Regions from separate parts of the Homo sapiens genome. Here all the other regions are linked to region 1. The links are contacts of gene promoters, found by promoter capture Hi-C in human tissues and cell types (Jung and others, 2019). All regions are on one chromosome and are shown on one strand. Each heading gives the region's core, a stretch centred on a gene start or on the middle of the fragment in contact. The rest is flanking DNA. Distances are from core to core; before and after follow the strand shown.

Evidence for each region. Contacts are between HindIII fragments. The study calls those that stand out against the background at their distance.
Region 2: a fragment that was not itself captured here is called in contact with the fragment with the promoter of BMP7 in region 1 in 1 of the 25 tissues and cell types used here (adrenal gland).
Region 3: a contact is called between a fragment that was not itself captured here and the fragment with the promoter of BMP7 in region 1, in 4 of the 25 tissues and cell types used here (bladder, lymphoblastoid cells, mesendoderm cells and 1 more).

What each region holds. Positions count from the first base shown.
Region 1 is chr20:57,263,517-57,267,955 of GRCh38, reverse strand. It overlaps BMP7 (bone morphogenetic protein 7), which reads left to right and starts at 1,315. Exons shown (of 7, transcript NM_001719.3): 1 at 1,315-2,251. The coding sequence starts at 1,834. It overlaps LOC112268270 (translation initiation factor IF-2-like), which reads right to left and starts at 1,516. Exons shown (of 2, transcript NR_171651.1): 1 at 1,314-1,516; 2 at 669-1,173. RefSeq lists a cis regulatory region at 1,116-1,208, a promoter at 1-1,827 and enhancers at 2,936-3,651, 4,370-4,439. The HindIII fragment of the contact is 13,311 bases long and covers 1-4,439 here.
Region 2 is chr20:57,301,404-57,305,993 of GRCh38, reverse strand. It overlaps LOC105372687 (a long non-coding RNA gene), which reads left to right. Exons shown (of 12, transcript XR_007067670.1): 3 at 272-307; 4 at 1,084-1,182; 5 at 1,639-1,822; 6 at 3,373-3,513. Among named protein-coding and RNA genes, the nearest start is that of MIR4325, 18 kb to the left of the region's middle. RefSeq lists an enhancer at 4,172-4,590. The HindIII fragment of the contact is 5,243 bases long and covers 1-4,590 here.
Region 3 is chr20:57,213,031-57,217,927 of GRCh38, reverse strand. All of the region lies in intron 2 of BMP7 (bone morphogenetic protein 7), which reads left to right. BMP7-AS1 (BMP7 antisense RNA 1) reads right to left here and starts at 4,232. Exons shown (of 4, transcript NR_110631.1): 1 at 3,852-4,232; 2 at 3,433-3,560; 3 at 2,980-3,123; 4 at 2,062-2,420. The HindIII fragment of the contact is 5,350 bases long and covers 1-4,000 here.

The sequences.
Region 1 (4,439 bases), core at 66-2,565:
GGCTTAGCCAGAGCCCCTCCCAGACAAGCGCCCCCGCTTCCCCAACCTCAGCCCTTCCCAGTTCATCCCAAAGGCCCTCTGGGGACCCACTCTCTCACCCAGCCCCAGGAGGGGAAGGAGACAGGATGAACTTTTACCCCGCTGCCCTCACTGCCACTCTGGGTGCAGTAATTCCCTTGAGATCCCACACCGGCAGAGGGACCGGTGGGTTCTGAGTGGTCTGGGGACTCCCTGTGACAGCGTGCATGGCTCGGTATTGATTGAGGGATGAATGGATGAGGAGAGACAGGAGAGGAGGCCGATGGGGAGGTCTCAGGCACAGACCCTTGGAGGGGAAGAGGATGTGAAGACCAGCGGCTGGCTCCCCAGGCACTGCCACGAGGAGGGCTGATGGGAAGCCCTAGTGGTGGGGCTGGGGTGTCTGGTCTCAGGCTGAGGGGTGGCTGGAAAGATACAGGGCCCCGAAGAGGAGGAGGTGGGAAGAACCCCCCCAGCTCACACGCAGTTCACTTATTCACTCAACAAATCGTGACTGCGCAGCTACAGTGGCTACCAGGCGCTGGGTTCAAGGCACTGCGGGTACCAGAGGTGCGGAGAAGATCGCTGATCCGGGCCCCAGTGCTCTGGGTGTCTAGCGGGGGTAAGAAGGCAATAAAGAAGGCACGGAGTAACTCAAACAGCAATTCCAGACAGCAAGAGAAACTACAGGAAAGAAAACAAACGTGCGAGGGGCGAGGCGAGGAAACAACCTCAGCTTGGCAGGTCTTGGAGGTCTCTGGGAGGAGAAAGCAGCGTCTGATGGGGGCGGGAGGTGGTGAGTGGGGAGAGGTCCAGGCGGAGGGAATGGCGAGCGCAGAGACAGGCTGGCAACGGCTTCAGGGAGGCGCGGAGGGGTCAGCGTGGCTGGCTTAAAAGGATACAGGGACTGAGGGGCAAGACCGGCTCAAGGGTCACCGCTTCCAGGAAGCCTTCTATTTCCGCGCCACCTCCGCGCTCCCCCAACTTTTCCCACCGCGGTCCGCAGCCCACCCGTCCTGCTCGGGCCGCCTTCCTGGTCCGGACCGCGAGTGCCGAGAGGGCAGGGCCGGCTCCGATTCCTCCAGCCGCATCCCCGCGACGTCCCGCCAGGCTCTAGGCACCCCGTGGGCACTCAGTAAACATTTGTCGAGCGCTCTAGAGGGAATGAATGAACCCACTGGGCACAGCTGGGGGGAGGGCGGGGCCGAGGGCAGGTGGGAGGCCGCCGGCGCGGGAGGGGCCCCTCGAAGCCCGTCCTCCTCCTCCTCCTCCTCCGCCCAGGCCCCAGCGCGTACCACTCTGGCGCTCCCGAGGCGGCCTCTTGTGCGATCCAGGGCGCACAAGGCTGGGAGAGCGCCCCGGGGCCCCTGCTATCCGCGCCGGAGGTTGGAAGAGGGTGGGTTGCCGCCGCCCGAGGGCGAGAGCGCCAGAGGAGCGGGAAGAAGGAGCGCTCGCCCGCCCGCCTGCCTCCTCGCTGCCTCCCCGGCGTTGGCTCTCTGGACTCCTAGGCTTGCTGGCTGCTCCTCCCACCCGCGCCCGCCTCCTCACTCGCCTTTTCGTTCGCCGGGGCTGCTTTCCAAGCCCTGCGGTGCGCCCGGGCGAGTGCGGGGCGAGGGGCCCGGGGCCAGCACCGAGCAGGGGGCGGGGGTCCGGGCAGAGCGCGGCCGGCCGGGGAGGGGCCATGTCTGGCGCGGGCGCAGCGGGGCCCGTCTGCAGCAAGTGACCGAGCGGCGCGGACGGCCGCCTGCCCCCTCTGCCACCTGGGGCGGTGCGGGCCCGGAGCCCGGAGCCCGGGTAGCGCGTAGAGCCGGCGCGATGCACGTGCGCTCACTGCGAGCTGCGGCGCCGCACAGCTTCGTGGCGCTCTGGGCACCCCTGTTCCTGCTGCGCTCCGCCCTGGCCGACTTCAGCCTGGACAACGAGGTGCACTCGAGCTTCATCCACCGGCGCCTCCGCAGCCAGGAGCGGCGGGAGATGCAGCGCGAGATCCTCTCCATTTTGGGCTTGCCCCACCGCCCGCGCCCGCACCTCCAGGGCAAGCACAACTCGGCACCCATGTTCATGCTGGACCTGTACAACGCCATGGCGGTGGAGGAGGGCGGCGGGCCCGGCGGCCAGGGCTTCTCCTACCCCTACAAGGCCGTCTTCAGTACCCAGGGCCCCCCTCTGGCCAGCCTGCAAGATAGCCATTTCCTCACCGACGCCGACATGGTCATGAGCTTCGTCAACCTCGGTGAGTAAGGGCAGGCGAGGGTACGCGTCTCCTTTCGGGGGCACTTTGAGACTGGGAGGGAGGGAGCCGCTTCTTCTATGCAGCCCGCCCAGCTTTCCGCTCCTGGCTGAAATCGCAGTGCCTGCCCGAGGGTCTCCCACCCACAGCCCTATGACTCCCAAGCTGTGTGCGCCCCCAGGTCGGGCGCGCTGGGTTCGGTGAGCCTGTAGGGGTTACTGGGAAGGAGGGATCCTCCGAAGTCCCCTCCATGTTACGCCGCCGGCCGCATCTCTGGGGCTGGAGGCAAGGGCCGTTCAAAGCGCGGGGCTCGGTCATGTGAGCTGTCCCGGGCCGGCGCGGCTCGCGCTACCTGGATGTAAAGGGCCCTTCCCGGCGAGGCTGCCTTGCCGCCCTTCCTGGGCCCCTCTCAGCCCTGCCTGGCTCTGGCATCGCGGCCGTCGCACCCCCTTACCCTCCCTGTCAAGCCCTACCTGTCCCCTCGTGGTGCGCCCGCCTTAGCGTACCGCGCGCTCCGAGCGCCTTGGGGCCCCTCTCCGGGCCGCCGGATGCCCCATTCTCTCTTGGCTGGAGCTGGGGAAGAAACGGTGCCATTGCTAATTTTCTTTGTTTTCTTTCTTTGTTTATTTTTTTCTTTTTTCTTTTTTTTTCTTTTCTTTTCTTTTTTTTTTTTTTTGAGACGGAGTTTCACTCTTGTCGCCCAGTCTGGAGTGCAATGGCGCGATCTCTGCTCACCGCAACCTCTGCCTCCCGGGTTCAAGCGATTCTCGTGCCTCAGCCTCCCGAGTAGCTGGGATTACAGGCATGCGCCACCATGCCTGGCTAATTTTGTATTTTTAGTAGAGACAGGGTTTCTCCATGTTAGGCAGGCTGGTCTCGAACTCCCGATCTCAGGTGATCCTCCCGCCTCAGCCTCCCAAAGTGGTGCTGGGATTACAGGCGTGAGCCACTGTGCCCTGCCGCTAGTCTTCTATTTTAAGTATTTAGTGGTAGGTCCCGGGCCGGCAGAATCTATTTTCAGCATTTACCACGTGTGGCGCGCAAACCACAGGTTTTGGCGATTGGGTTGCGCGGGATCTCAGAGCTGACGCCGCGGGGGCGGCTGGGGGTCCCGGTTTCCGACTGGAGCCGCGACGACCCCGGCGACGCGAGCCTGGGGCTGCAGCGAGGGCCGGGGAGCTCCCCCTCCATATGTGCGCGCACATTCTCCAGACTTGCTCAAACTAACCCCCCGGCAGCGCCAGCGCGCTGCGGGACTGATGATCAAATATTTGGTTTCCGAGATAACACACCCCGATAGCGCTGTTTCCTGAGCCGCTTTCATTCTACTTGTGTAACTTGCTGCGAAAACCCGAACCAAGTCAAGACAGCAAACTCACGCCCACGGGCGCTGTGTCAACATGGAAATAATGATACTGAAGCCCCACGCTGGGCACCTGGGGCGTGGACTGGGGGCGCGGGGGAAGCGCAGATCCGCCTTCATGCTTCCCCCTCCTGATAAGGTCCCTGGAGTTCCCGGGAGGCCATTGTCTGTACTTAATAATAACTAAATCCAACTAGTGAACCAAGCTTCAGCGAGCAAGGGGTGGGAGGTTTAGATGCCAAAATACCTTCAAAAAAGTTTAAATTATACTAAGCAGCCAGTTAAGAAGGAAGCAGCAACATATGACCTGATTTAGAACCATCTCCAAGATGTATGAGGTGGAAAGAAGCAAGGTGCAGATGAGTGGGCTGCATGTGTGCTTGTATATCATCGTGTCCTCCTGGAGGAAGACACCAGGAACTGGAGAGAGATTTTACTGGAGGGGTAGAGAGGCGGGGGCATAGCTGGGGCTTACGGAGTGGGAGGTGGGGTCTGATTTTTCGTCGTCTGCACTTCTGTATTTGTGATTTTTTTAAAACAATGTGTATTTATTAACTATACCAAAAACTAAAGGAAAATTCCAAATACATACATATAAATAATGAACGCAGAGCTCTGTCGCCCTCCTGAAGCCTGGGGTTAGCCAGGGCCCTTTCTCTGGTGGGGGATTTATAGCATCTTCCCTTCTGTTGGGTACCCCGGACTCCCACTGAATGTGCAGGTCCCAGTGGCTGCCTTCAGAGCCTGGCTGGAATCATTAAAAAGGTATTTGTAATCTCTGGCTTCTGCAGAAGGCCCTGCAAACCAAGAGCAAAAAAGCCCCCAGTG
Region 2 (4,590 bases), core at 1,016-3,515, 37 kb before region 1:
GCCAGCTCACAGCCATCTGCAGAACACCAAGGGCAAATCTGGGAGGTGTGGCTACTGGAGCAACTTCAAAAGCAACTATGTGTGTTTTGCCTTTGGGTATGAGTGAGACTCTAGGTTGCAAGTGACAGAAAACCTAATCAAACCAGCCCAACAGAAAAATAAACATTAGCTCATGTAACTGAAATGTGCAGAGTAGATGGCTTCATTCAGGCAAGGCTGTGTCCAGGTGTTCAAATAGTGCCTTTCTCTGTGTTGTCTCCTTTTCAGGCAGGCACTTTCCCAGAAAGATGGTGGTCTGGAGCTCCAGGTATGTCCAAAGCTCCTAATAACCCCAGCAGAGAGAGTTGCCTCTCAAAAGACTTCCAAAAGGAATTCTGGGACTGAGTGGTATTGACTCTGATGAACTTGGCCTGGGTCAGGTGTCCATCCTTGAGCCATCTTTGACCCAGGCTTGTCCATCCCTGCTCGTGGGGGTGGGAGGATGCAATACTCTCTGCCCAGTTCACCCGTGGACAGAGCCAGGCTCAGCCCCACCGGACTATGTGGAGAGAGTTGCAGGGTTGGGTGGGGGTCTCTGTATTAGCCTACTTCGGCTGCTGTAGCAAAATACCGTAAACTGGGTGGCTTAAACAACAGAAATATATATTTTCACCATTCTGGAGGCTGGAAGTCCAAGGTCCAGGTGTCAAGATGGTCAGGTTCTGGCGCAGGCCCTCTTCCTGGCTTACAGATGGCCGCCTTCTCACTGTGGCTCACACAGCCTTTCCTCGGTGTGCACGGAGGTAGGGCATCAACGAGCAAACGCTCTGGTCGGTGTCCCTGCTAAGAAGGGCACCACTCCCATCACATCAGACCAGGGCCTCCTGACATCTAACCCTGGTCATCCCCCAAAAGCTTCATCTCCAAATCCCATCACACTGGGGGTACAAGCATTCAGTTTATAGTCTCTGAGGAAAAGTCCTAGAAGAAAGAAAAGATTAACATTCTGAGAAGAGAAGACAAAACCATCAAATGTCCTGTACAAAGATCTTTCTTAGAAATCTCTCATAGTGTTCACCTTCTCCCTTTCTGTTGTCACGGCAGTGGCCCGAGGAGCTCTGGCTGTCACCCCTTCAACAGCTGCCTCGCTTGCAGCCCCGTGGCAACCTGTGGGCAGAACGCTCTTCTTAAGAGGCTATTCAGGTGTGGTTCCCCCCTTTTAGCAATGTTTTCTTCCGGGGTTATAGGGTAACGCATGACATATTGGAAAATATAGAGGAAAAAATTGCCCACAATCTCACACTCAGAGGAAGCCATATTTCCTTCTAGCGCTTTTAAATGCACTATAGATATTTTTATACAATTGAGGTCATTGTACTCATAGAATTGTATGTGTTGCTGCTTCACTTAAGTAGTGTAAACTTTTCCCTGCATCATTAAAATACCTTTGTAAAGACCCAAAACCATGGTGGCCAAGGGCATGAGGCTGTGAGTCTTGTGCCCCACACCATAGCCAGGAGATCTGGTCACAGGGATCAGCAGCTGTACCAGGACCATGGTGGGAAAGCATACTGGGAAAAAGCAGTTCCCCTGATGAAGAGAGTGGGTCTGTTTTACAGACAAAAGAATACATGTTGGTACTTAACCTTCTTCCCGCAGGCCTACCTCCATATCCAGCTTCCTGCCTGGCCAGAAGACACAGTGCTCTCTCAGCCTCTCCCACTGTGTCCCCGGCTGCCCCATCCCTGTATTTCTCCAAAGCTGGGGTCATTGTGACGCCCTGTGTTTCCTGGCTGGGAGCAATCTCACACCTTCTCCTCTGTCCCTATAGGCATCATGTATGGTGAGGACTGCCTGTCTCAGGGTTATCTAGGCCCAGTCTTCCCCCAGGGCTGTTCCTTACGCAGTGGTTACTTAATAAGAATCTTTGGGGGTGGGCACTGCTCTGGGCTGGGGATGCCATGGACAGCCAACAGGCATGGTCCTGCTCTCCTGAAGTTACAGTCTCGAGAATCAGCCTGTATTAGTCTGTTCTTATGCTGCTAATAAAAACATACACAAGACTGGGTAATTTTTTTTTTTGAGATGGGGTTTTACTCTTGTTGCCTAGGCTGGAGTGCAATGCGTGATCTCGGCTCACTGCAACCTCCACCTCCTGGGTTCGAGTGATTCTCCTGACTCAGCCTCCAGAGTAGCTGGGATTATAGGCATGCGCCACCACACCCGGGTAATTTTGTATTTTTAGTAGAGATGGGGTTTCACCATGTTGGTCAGGCTTGAACTCCTGACCACAGGTGATCCACCCACCTCAGCCTCCTAAAGTGCTGGGATTACAGGCGTGAGACATCACGCCTGGCCGAGACTGGGTAATTTATAAAGAAAAGAGGTTTAATTGACCCTCAGTTCAGCATGTCTGGGAAGGCCTCAGGAAACTGACAATCATGGCGGAAGGGGAAGCAAACACATACTTCTTCACATGGCAGCAGCAAGGAGAAGTGCTGAGCAAAAGTGGGGAAAGCCCCTTACAAAGCCATCAGCTCTTGTGAGAACTCGCTCACTATCATGAGAAGAGCATGAGGGTAACCACCCCACAATTCAATTACCTCCCACCAGGTCCCTCCCGTGACACATGGGGATTATGGGAACTATTAATTATCTTAATACAATTCAACATGAGATTTGGGTGGGGACACAGCCAAACCATATCACAACCACACAAATAACAATGTGACCAGTGCCCTAAACCTCGAGGGCATCCCTTGAGGAATTCCCCCTTGGGGAATCAGGGATGGCTCCATGGAGGAGGTGATGTCTGAGCTGAAGTCTGACAGATGAGAAGTTACCTGGTCTGAGTGGCAGAGAAGAGAGTTCCAGGCAAAAGGTACTGCAGGTGCAGATGTTCCAAGGAAGGATGGTGACCTCAGAAGTGGGTGAGGCTGGACAGCAGAGAGGTATCGGGAACAGGACAGGAAATGGGGAGAGGAGACTGGAGAGGACCGTGGAGCGGTGCAAGTAGCACCTGCAGGACTGGTGCGGGTGTTGGTCCTTGTCTAAGAGCAATCGTGAGGTGGGGGTTGAAATGATCAGTATGCCTCAGGCATCAATAGTGGATGGCAGTGGATCAGAGCTTAGGAAATAGAAGCTACTCTAGGTACTCCAAGTTTGTGGGGTTTAATCGAGGAATTGGGGGCTTTTGCAGGAGCAAAGGTAGTGAAGGATGGAGATGTTGCCAGGAAAGATCATGGCCTGCTTCACAGAGGGCTCAAGAAGAAGCTCTGGGTGTGTGGTTGTCAGGAGATCACTGGGAAGCCCCTGGGAATCCTCAGGTCTCCTGTGGGCCTGGCTGCAGCTGCCTCGGAGATCAGCAGCTCCTTCTTTTCTTCCACTGTCCAGGTTTCTCACAAGAACCTCTCCTTGCAAAAACTAACCTGAAGCCCCTGAAAGAAGGATCCTTGGAAACACAGATCTTGCCCCTGCAAAGCCACTTTAGCTGGACATGGATGCAAAGAGAGCCCCAGACATTCTGCGCGCATGGTGTGTGGTTCACAGTAGGTGGTTTGGAATCTGACGATTTGGGTTCACGTCTTGCTACTACCACTTTTGAGATATGGGACTTAAAGCACGTTATTTATTGTATGGGTCTCAGTTTCCTCTTCTGTACCATCCGCCATGGGTTGGTTAAGAAGCTGAAATGGGCCGGGTGCGGTGGCTCATGCCTGTAATCCCAGCACTTTGGGTGGCTGAGGGAGGCGGATCACCTGATCAGGACTTTGAGACCCGCTTTGCCAACATGGTGAAACCTCATCTCTACTAAATATACAAAATTTAGCCTGGCATGGTGGCAGGCGCCTGTAATCCCAGCTACTCGGGGAGGCTGAGGCAGGAGAATCGCTTGAACCTGGGAGGTGGAGGTTGCACTGAGCTGAGATTGTGCCATTGCACTCCAGCCTGGGAGGCAGAGCAAGATTCCATCTAAAAAAAAAAAAGGCCAGGCACGGTGGCTCACACCTGTAATCCCAGCACTTTGGGAGGCCGAGGAGGGCGGATCATGAGGTCAGGAGATCGAGACCATCCTGGCTAACATGGTGAAACCCCATCTCTACTAAAAATACAAAAAAGTAGCCGGGCTTGCTGGTGGGTGCCTGTAGTCCCAGCTACTCAGGAGGCTGAGGGAGGAGAATGGCATGGGCCCGGGAGGTGGAGCTTGCAGTGAGCCGAGATCACGCCGTTGCACTCCAGCCTGGGTGACAGTGCGAGACTCCATCTCAAAAAAAAAAAAAAAAAAAAGAAGCTGAAATGGGTTAATGTGCACGATGCCCTTAGACCAGCACCTGGAAGTTAGTGAGGCTCACTGTGATTGGCTGCTATTCATGATTCCATAGATGGTTCTGGACTCAACGTGGAGAATGGATAGCTACGAAGTGATCGCAGATCGAGGGACAGCTGTCCAGGGAGAGGCAGCACTGACCGGGTTGAGATGGTGGTGACAGGGCCACAGCAATGCCGATGCATTTGGGGGCTCCTTGGGGGATGAGATTGGCAGAGCGCGGTTGCAGACTGGAAGTGGGGACAGGAGCGGGAGAAGGAGGCTTCGACACCAACTCCCTGGGG
Region 3 (4,897 bases), core at 76-2,575, 50 kb after region 1:
CAGATCCACAGAAACACAGACACAGACACAGCACACAGATGCGCAGACACGCCTGGTTTCCCCTGTTTTAACACCTAACATCAATAGGGTACAGTTTTCATAATTAAGGACCCAGCATCTGCATTTTTATTAATGAAAGTCAATCATTTATTCCGGACCCCTTTGCTTTTACTTCTTGTCCTTCTGTCCTGTCCAGGACGCCACCTACCCTTCAGTGGCCACATTCCCTGGGGCTCCTCCTGCCTATGTGTTTCTCCTGCTTTGCTTGTTTCTGAAAGTGACAGTCACCCAGCGTTTGGAGGGAGTTGATGCAGAGTCCTCTCCCACTATCGCTCCGTCTATCTCAGCCCCACCTATTTTAAAATTCAACCTGAATCCCTACACTCTGGCTGTGGCTCGATGTCTTCTGAACTTGAGTGACGTGGGTCACAGCCACACGGGGTCCCCAGACTGGAGTCCTTGTAACCCCTGGGCTTTCAGCTATGGCGACCTCAGTGCCTGGCACAGAGCACTCCATGTGGCTTTGCTTCTTGAGTGGAAATGAGATTATAAGAGCCTTTTTGGGGTAAGGGTTCTTTGTCTCCTAACTCTTCCCCAGGGCCTAGTTAGGGGCGCTTTAAAGATGGCACTTGAGGTGTCCTCAATAGCAGGCTCTTTCCCCTCCATGCTGTGGGCTTAGGGAGCGGGCTCAGCCTCTTGCTCTGGGGTTGAACCCACAGGTCCCGGAAGTGGGAGAGGGTGGGTGGGGTGGTTTGGGAGTCAGGTTTGCAAGTGGGATTGAGAGCTGGAACCAGGAGCCTCCCAACAAACCTGTCATGGTCATTCTCCTTGGAAAGCTTTCTCCAGCTGAGTCCTGCCTCCATCCCTTTCCCCTTGGGTGTTCCACATGCGGGGGCTCACGGTGCAGTAGGAAAAGCATCTCTGAGGCCCTAGTCTGGCTCCTGGACATAAGAGGGATCCTCCAGCTTCCCCAGCATCACTGGTGTTTGAGTCTTTTCTCTGCAGATGCCACCACAGGTTGTCCTGGCGGGGGTCCCTGCCATGAATGTAGACAGCATTTCTCCTCCAGCCCATGTCTGGCTGCTCAGGTGGTGACTCCCACCATGTCAGCCTCACCAACTGCCACCTTGGACAGGGCCTCCACTCCTCCTCGGAGAGATGGACCCGCTGAGCCGCAGACCTCGAGGCTTCCCCTCCCCACACACCTTCCCCTATGTGGGAGCTCTGCGGGGAACTTTCTCTGACCCACTGAGGAGTCGGAGTCAAGGTCTATGGAGAATTCCCCAGCCCCCTCACCCTCAGGAGACAGTCCCTCACCCTCAGGAGACAGCCCCTCGCCCTCAAGAGACAGCCCCTCACCCTCAGGAGACAGCCCCTCGCCCTCAGGAGACAGCCCCCTCGCCCTCAGGAGACAGCCCCCTCGCCCTCAGGAGACAGCGCCCTCGTCCTCAGGTGCACCCCTCTGGAGCTGCTCCAGGAGGTTCTGACGGGCTGAAGTCCCAGGCCCACAGTGTTCTGTTTTGACAATCTCCAAGCTTGCCTTACTTCCCCGCCCTCTCCAGGTGGTTCCTGGGGTCACCTCTCAGACAAACTACTTGCATTCAAGTCCTTGACTCAGGACCTGCCTCTGGGGTCACTGAAGCATGACAGAGGCCAAGTGTCAACCACACAGGGCAGCCGGGAGGGCTTCCTGGCAAGGGGCAGCTTTGGCACCGGCACAGCTTCTGGGACCTGGTGAGGGCCTACCAAGTGCAAGCTGATGTCCTCAGCCTGCCCCCTTCCTGGACCCCCCCGGCTTCAGGATGCTACCGTGAGAATAAGTCTTAGAACAGCCCGCTCTGGCCTTCTCTAGATGTTCCAACCCAGCCTCTGTTTTTGAGAATCTTGAATTTGGAAATTGCGTCACTTGTTTCTGTCTGCAAAGCACTGTCAAGTTTCTTTCCCCTTGTCGCCCTGCTTTGCTGCACTTTTTCTGTCTCTGGGTTTGGAATCTTAAAACAGCCTGTGGTTCTCTTAAAAAAAAAAAAAAATGAGGTTGGAAAGATGACCCAGCCCGAAGACTGTATTTGTGGTGCTTGTTTATTCCTTGAGTGTGCTTCAGGAAAGGGGCTGAATTTACCTCATTCTATTTTGGTCTGGACCTGGAGGCTGGAGGAAATGCGGTCCCCAGGAGAAGTCTAGAAAGATGAGTCTCCCCATCCTCCATGGCTGCCCGCCCACCTCCACAGTGCCAGATGCAGGCAGCTGCCCATCCGTGTGGGATTTCCCCCAGAGCCGTGTCAGAAGCTCTGCAGTGCCCCCCAGATTTTTCTGGGGGGACCCCCCAGAGTTCTTGATGTTTCACCAGAGTTCTTGGTGTGTTCTGTGAGCTGGAATCCAGCTCGCGGCTCAGTTCCACTGGGTTTCTGGATGGATCATGCCTGGGTTGAATGGAACAGTAGAGCCTCCAGTTTTCCAGAAATTCTGGGGCTCAAACCCTGATATCTTAAGCAAAGAGGGACAAGAGTCAGGTCCAAAAGGAAATGTGAGATGTGCTTTCTTCCCAGCTGTTGCTTTCTGCCCACCTGAGTCCTCTTGATTTTTGCCTGATGTGGGGAAAGGAGGTGGCTCCGAAGAGGTGATGGGGACAGTAAATGGGGGCACTCAACCGGAAGCCCATGCAGCCTGGCAGTTTCCAGTGAGGGGTCAATTTGAGGTAATTTGACAGCCCCCTGGTTCCATAGCCAGGCCTGTGAAGGTGGGGGGTATGGAGGTGCCCAGGGGCTGATGAGGGTTTCCCTTCAACTAGGATGTGCAGCTGGGTGCCCATGGCCTGGGAGTGTGGGTGCCCAGTGGGACATAGAGTGGGCTGGGTGGGCTAAGGCCCCAGTGAACTGTGAGTCAGAGCCATTTCTGGAGCTACCTGAATAATCTGAAAAAGTATTTACCATTTCTCTTTTAATAATGTAAACTATTGGAAGTGAAACCAGAAAACCTTACTGGCCATAAGGATGCAGAGGATACCAGCACATTTGTCCAGCGTGCATCTGAGGCCTGCTTTGTGCTAAGCTGTGTGCCTGGTGGAGAGGCCGCTCCAGGGCTGAATAAAATAGGGCTGGTTCTTGCTGACAAAAAGCTTAAAACCTGGCAGGAAAAGAGGAGAACCCAAAAAACTATACAAACAAACTGAAACTCCAGCCCAGATGGCGCAGGGGAGAGGACTTGGGCTTGGAGCGTGTCCGACGTGGATGCACCATTAGGGCATCAGTGGACGCTTCCCTGGGATGCTCAAGAACAGGCAGGTGTGAGGGAGGTGAAAAGGCAGGGAACAGTGTTGCAGGCAGCGGAAACAGCATGTGTGAGGGGCTGTGGTGGGCTGGAGACTGGCACAGATGAGGAGGGCTGGGTGGGAGGAGGCTGTGGAGACAGGGGCCGGACCATCCAGGGCCTTACAGGTTGGATGACCTGGAGTTGACAATAATGCCTCCTCTCTCTCCCCAGTTTCTCGGTTTGGACTGTCAGTTCCATAGTCTTCTTTATCACAGAACACATTAGAGAGCTTTGGCTTTTTATCCTAAGAGCTGATAAAGGGTTTGAGGCAGGGAAGTTAATTGCTCAGCCCCTGCAAGCTGCTGGGGCAGGGGGAGTGCGGGGTGAGAAGAGTGGAAGGGGAACCCCCGGGTTCTCTGGGTGGTAGCTCTCCCTCCACCATCAAACCATCACCGTGCAGGGGTGACACTTTGCTGGAACAAGGCTCTGGGGTGGTTCCATTCACTACCTGCATATCTCTGAGCCTCAGTCTCCCACCTGTGAGAGGGGACAACAGTGCTCGCCTCTCAGGTACCATACGGTTCAGAGGGCTCGCTCCGCACCTTGTTCTAAGATGGTTCCATCTTGAGTTGGGGTCAGCTCACTGCAGCTGTGATCTTACTTTAGAGCCAAGGCAGCTTGAATCCCATGGTGGAAGATTCACACTGACATTGAGGTTTGCTCCAACCAGCTGCGAACCTTGAGTCTCTGGCTTTGCGCTGGCATCTTGAGCATATCTTTCCATTTAACTCATTCTCAGAACAATCCTCATGGCTACCTCCATTTTACAAACAAAAGAACCTGATGGACAGAGACTGACTTGCTCAGGGTTACTTCACTGAAATTTAACTCCAATTTTCCTCAACTCAGAGCCTGGAGCCCTACAGCCTACATCCCTGAGCACCCACTGTGGGACCCGAGGACCACTCTGGGGATTTCATCACAAAGAGGATTCCGGGCCTCTCACCCCCTGATTGTCTCTGCTGGTGGCTGTGTCTCTAATGAGGGAGAGCCTTCCATTTGTCGCTGTATTTCTCTTCCCTCTTGACCCCCAGCCTCTGTGATCCACACCTTGACACAAGTTTGAACGGCTCGTTACTGCGCTCCATTGCCGGAGCAGACATTTCTTTGCAGCAGGACTTTTCAGAGCCTTTAAAGAGCTAAGGTGCATTATGACATCTCTAAGGAGCAATGTGTCATGTGGTGCTTCCCAACCTCATTTCACCACAGAGCATTTTGGATTTTTGATCCTCTCATTTTCCTCTCTTAGCTATCCTATTAATAAGTTGCAGTTTTTGAGACCTTGATAAACTCCAAACCCTTTGTCTTGTGGATGGAGAAACTGAGGGCTAGAACATAAGGGCCACTGACTCGCCTTCTGACTGTGACAACGCTGGCCTCCGGGTGCTGGACGGGCATCTTCCTGACTTTCCCATGAGTGGCTGGGTTGGTGCTGTCTGCAGTCAGCTGGCCCTGCCCAGAGGGAGACAGACAGCCGTGGGGTGGGTGAGAGGGCCGTGGGTGGCCACCCGAGCTCTGTCTGGGGCAGGAGGATATTGTGCCTCTTTGTGTATTTTTCCACCTTACTCCCCAAAGCTTTAATTTTAGC